Linked DNA regions of Homo sapiens: region 1 is linked to region 2. The links are contacts of gene promoters, found by promoter capture Hi-C in human tissues and cell types (Jung and others, 2019). All regions are on one chromosome and are shown on one strand. The core of a region is centred on a gene start or on the middle of the fragment in contact, and the rest is flanking DNA. Distances in the headings are between cores, read along the strand shown.

Region 1 (2,700 bases), core at 107-2,606, 160 kb after region 2:
CCCAAAGCACTGGGATGACAGGTGTGAGCCACCATACCTCTCCAGTTTTCTTATCTGTGAAATGGAACTAAAAATGATACTTGCAAATATTGAAAAAGAGAATGAATATGAAGTTAGCTCATTAAGAAAAAAGCTGGCCGGGCGCGGTGGCTCATGCCTGTAATCCCAGCACTTTGGGAGGCTGAGGCAGGCAGATCACTTGAGGTCAGGAGTTCAAGACCAGCCTGGCCAACATGGTGAAATCCCGTCTCTACTAAAAATAGAAAAAAATTAGCCATCCATGGTCGCGGTGCCTGTAATCCAAGCTACTCAGGAGGCTGAGGCAGGAGAATCACTTAAACCCAGGAGGTGGAGCTTGCAGTGAGCCGAGATTGCGCCACCGTACTCCATCCTGGGCAACAGAGCGAGACTCCAGCTCAAAAAAAAAAAAAAAGGAAAAGCTGGATGTAAATGTTGTAATGTTCACATTGCTATACAAAATTGATCCCGTGGTGTGACATTTGGTTCATGCCCTGTTTATTTACCCTTGACAGTGAAGACTTTGGGGGGTGGGGATTAAGCCAGGCTCCTCCATGAACCTTAAGAGCTGAGGTTGGGGACATTTCTGAGCACTGAGAAGCTGTTCTAGGTATACCCCTTTTAATGTGAGTCCTGGGCAGACAACTAGAGAGCCCTTATGAGGTGGCACCTGGGGGCCTGACAAGTTTGGAAATGAGGCCCATCTGCCAGTGACACTGATCTTGACACAGCCCACTTGTCCTCCCAGGTGCTGAGTGAGTGAGGAGCTGAGTCCTCTGCCTGGGAAGAGGGGTGTGTTCCTGACAGAATTGCAGGAGAGTGTGCTGGCAGAAGCGGGGTGTTTTCTGTATCTTGAGGATTTACTGTCCCTCACGAAACCATCCTACGTGACTTTTGCAAGCCAGTCTCAGGCACAGAGTTCCCACCCACCCACACCTCATGCTCTTCTGCAAGGCTGGATGGTAAAGTCCTATCTCAGACATTACCTCATGATTTCCCAAACAACCCTGGGAAGTGGGCAGGGCAGGTATTATCATCCCCATGTGACAAAGAAGGAAACTGAGGCCTGGGGAGTTGAACAGGCTGCCCAGGGTCCTGGCTCGTTAGTGGTAGGGCTCTGACTAGACTCCCAGTCTCCTGACACCAGCCCAGAGTTAGGAATTTGGAGAGTGAAGAGAAAGGGCTTCATTCCTGTTTAGAGTTGTCCCAGGCTCTTTGGAGCTGTCTGACAGGAAGCTTTCTAAGATGAGACCTGGGATGGCAGATGGAGAAACATGAACTGAAAAGGCAGCTCCCTGTCAAGCCCATGAAACTTTGATAGCAGATTAGGACGAGGAATCGGGCCTCCTACCAGCCCCGTGCTGCAGTAGACCATGCATAGGTATTGATTGTTGCTATGGGGGGCAGAGATACTGGAATATGTGTGCTTTGCATATGTATACCAGATTCCAGTATTCCCATCATTTTTGATTTAGTGTTAGCAATGACTTTCATTAGAGGTTGAATTGCTCCCTTCTGCTCCCTCCCTGGATGACATTCTGGGTGGCTCTGTCCTAAAGTAGACAGACCCTCGCCTCCCACCCATCATCCCTGTAGCCTAGCTGGCGACTTCTGCACTGTGGGACCTCAACTTCTGGCTGCAGAGCCTTCTGTGTGCAGAAAAAGGCCTGTTGCTGTCACCTGCCCTTGGGTTGGCTGGGCCCTCTGATGGGCATACTAGAGCCACCTCAGGTTCTGCTTTTGTGCATCTGCTGAGTACAGTGGCCAGGGAGTGCCTGACTGCAAATTTTCACTCCTGTTATCCTCCGAAAGCTAGAGTAATCTTCTGCCTTGATTTGCATATTCATAACACAGCAGTTAGACTGGTGAACCCCTCAAGCAAAAATCATGCTGATGGGAGAGACAACCCCTCCCCTCTGATTCCCTTTCTTTACTCCTTTCCTGAAATGATCAGATCAGAGAACTATGGGGAAGTGTAATACTGAAAATGAGGAACTAGTATGAGTAACAGTGGTATAGTTTCTTCATTTGTGAAATGGAGATAATCAGAAAGCTGTTGTAAGTCAGCCCTGGCTGCATGTCAGTTACCCAGCGGGCTTTTAAATAGCCCCATCTTCAGGCCCAGACCCAGGAGATCAGAATCTCTCAGGGTGAGACTTAAACACTAGGAGTTTTAAAATTCCCCAGGCAATATCAATGTGTGGCCTGGGTTGAGAACCACTGCTCTAGGATTTAAAGAGTTGGCTACTTGCTCGGAATAGAGCTATTTTCACATCTGGCTGTGCGTGGGAATCATTGGCGGGGTAGGGTGGTGCTTTTAAAATTAAACTGAAGCTGGGTGGTGTGGCAGGCACCTGTGGTCCCAGCTACTCGGGAGGCTGAGGTTGGGAGGATTGCTTGAGCCCAGGAGTTTGAGGCTGCAGTGAGTTATGATCACACCACTGCCCTCCAGCCGGGGCAGCAGAGCCAGACCCCATCTCTAAAAATAAATAAAATTAAACCAATTCCTTGGTTTCACATTCCAGACCATTTGAATCAGTGACTTATGTCTCTGGATGTCTCTTGCTCAGCCTTCACATGAACCACTTTTGAGTACCACGGGCCAACATTACAAATATTTCCAGTCTTCACAATTCTCTAGCAGGGAACCCTGATTCCCATTTGACAGATGAGCAAATCTAT
Region 2 (2,700 bases), core at 147-2,646:
GCGTTGAACCAGGCTCAGGGCCCTTCTGGGCGCTGGGCGCTGTGTGCACAGGTTGTACCCCATGACGCGGCATAGCTTTGCTGTTGGGGGAAGGACCCTCACCCTACATGCCATCAGGAGGGCAGCACAGGACCTCACCATGGAGGGGACAGGACCTGGGTTTCATGGAGCTGGGACTACCTGTGTCCGTTACCTCTTTCAGTCCTTTCAACAAGCCAGAGGGGGGTGTTTGGACCTATATTAGACTCAGAAAATTGATGCTTGAGGTGGTGAATAACATCCCCAAGTTGTGGGTTCCCTCCCTGCCATGCCCCCACACCTCTCTGTCTGGGCCACACCCCTGGCACAGAAGGCCGGGGGGCAACCAACTGTGCTCTCGCATACCTGGATGTAAGCCTCCAAGCCCTGCCGGCGCTGTTCCAACCCTCTGGTCCTCCAGTTGGGCAGGCGTTTCGAGGGGAAGTCGGGCACTTTGTACAGCTTCTTGATCTACTGGAGGTTTACCGCGTGCGATCACAGCATCCCGACTGAGCCCTCAAGCCCTCTTCGCCCCAGCCAGAAGCCCTCCCGCGCCCCCGCCTTCGGGCTCTACTGGGACAGACCCTGGTGAGTGGTGGACCGGCCGAGGGCGAGGAAGGCCCCAACCCACCCACAGAGGCCCGGGGGCTGACCGGCTGCGCAGGGACTGAGGCAGTAATGGGGGTGGCGGAGGCTGGGGCTCGCCCGCCCGCCTCACAGGGCCTGGGCGGGGGCTGGACAGAGGCTGGGCCGGGGCCGGTGGGAGGTCGGCGCCGCCTCACCCGCTTGTGCAGCGCGTGGAACTCGCTGTAGCGCCTTGGCACCGTGTGTCTGCGCCCGCTGCACAGCACCTCCACTCGGAACACCTGGCGGCGCGGGCGGGCAGCGGGTCTGCGCGTGAGGCCCCGCGGGAGGACGCCGCAGCACCTGCGCCTGGCGACGTGCCCACCCTCCCGCTCTCAAAGGCACAAAGCGGCCTTGCGGCGCCGCGGCTGCCCGGGGACTCTCCGCTCCCGCACACCTGGGAGAACCGGCTGGCGGACCTGCCCCTCGGAGCCCTGGGGTCCCTCAAGAGCTCGAACCATGGTCCGCGAGGCTGGCAAATCCAAGCGGCCCCCAAACCCTCGACAAGGTTTCCCCCGACGGTCCAGCCCGCAGCGCTCGTTCACCCAGGCCCGGGCCCCGGGTCCCCACTGAGCGCAGCGCGGGGAAATCCTGCGGGTCCCGGCGCCCCTCCCCATCCAGGGGCCGCGCTCACCATGTGGCTTTTCTCCGGGCTCTGCCTGGGCCCCTCGGCCTCGGGCCCCACCGACGGGATGTGAACTTCCAGCATCCGCGCCCCGGCCCCAGCTGCTCCGCGCGCTCGGCTCGGAGCCCTAACTCTCCCGGAGCGGACTGAGGACCCCGGGGCGGCCGGCTCCGCCCCCTCGGTCCGCAGGCCCCACCCCAGGCCCCGCCCCCAGGCGACCCCGCCCCGGGCGTTCCCTTGCGCCGCGGGTCCTGAGCCTAGAAGATTAGGCGGGACCTGGACGCCGCCCCCGAAGTCTAGTGCGCCCACAGCGCGGGGCAGTGGAGTCAACCGTTTGTCAAACATTGACGGAGCACTCACTGATGCCAGGAACTGGCGAGCGAAAATGTCACCCAACCTGAGTTAAGCGCCTACCAAGGACGGCCTGTGGCTCCAGGCGCGGACGGAGGCGGGGCCCGGGCCTCAGCGCCGGTCCTGGGGCCAACCAGGGACCTGTCTTGGGTTCCTCAGTCCCTTCCCGAGCCTTTCCCTCCTTTCAGCCTGGTCCCTGAAATTGTGATCTGGATTCCCCGGCTGAGGCCACACCTGAGCAAGGCTTGGACCCAGTCCAGCTTTGATGCCCCTTTCCCCAGCATCCACAGGCCCCCCCATTCATTCATTGTTTTCATCCATCCATTCACTCATATCTTCCAACCCTAAGGGGCTCCAGGCTGTTTGTGGGGAAGAGGCAGTTTAGGGACCTAGACTCCGATTTGGACGTCAGACTGCCTGGATTTCAGGAGCTCCGTAGACCTTTGCTCATCTGCAAAATAGGGATAACGTGGCTCCTTCAGGCAAGTGTATAAAGTGAGATGATTTGGCCGGGCGCGGTGGCTCACGCCTGTAATCCCAGCACTTTGGGAGGCCGAGGTAGGCGGATCACCTGAGGTCAGGAGTTCGAGACCAGCCTGACCAACATGGTGAAACCCCGTACCTACTAAAAATACAAAAATCAACCAGGTGTGGTGGCACATGCCTGTAATCCCAGCTACTCAGGAGGCTGAGGCGGGAGAATCACTTGAACCTGAGAGGCGGAGGTTGCAGTGAGCCGAGATCAAACCATTGCACTCCAGACTGGGCAACAGCAAGACTCTGTCTTAAAAAAAAAAAAAAGTGAGATGATTCATGTTAGGCCCTTAACAGAAGCATTGAGCAGCAGCTTGACTGTGGGCTTCTCCTGGATGACTAGGATAAGTGGGCACAGGGCAGTGGATGGGAAGAGAGACTTTGGGGGGTGGCACCGGGTTGCTCTTGTCCACCCCTCCGGGCAGGTTCTTCCTGGATATGTGGCAGGATTTTGATCCAGAACTCTCTCAGGCCATGTGCTGGAAAGGACCTCTGCTCCCACCTCTCAGCCCTGCACCCTTCAGCTGTCGGAGAGCTGCTATCAGCAG

The links. The method cuts DNA at HindIII sites, captures the fragments that hold promoters and counts their contacts. A contact is called where the count stands out against the background at its distance.
Region 1: a fragment that was not itself captured here is called in contact with the fragment with the promoter of SNX22 in region 2 in 1 of the 25 tissues and cell types used here (H1 embryonic stem cells).

Annotation. Positions count from the first base shown.
Region 1 is chr15:63,986,241-63,988,940 of GRCh38, reverse strand. The region is part of intron 2 of DAPK2 (death associated protein kinase 2); the gene reads left to right. Among named protein-coding and RNA genes, the nearest start is that of DAPK2, 59 kb to the left of the region's middle. The HindIII fragment of the contact is 6,246 bases long and covers 1-2,700 here.
Region 2 is chr15:64,150,427-64,153,126 of GRCh38, reverse strand. SNX22 (sorting nexin 22) reads right to left here and starts at 1,396. Exons shown (of 7, transcript NM_024798.3): 1 at 1,277-1,396; 2 at 801-884; 3 at 385-489. The coding sequence starts at 1,351. RefSeq lists silencers at 691-1,070, 1,271-1,710 and an enhancer at 2,628-2,700. The HindIII fragment of the contact is 9,247 bases long and covers 1-2,700 here.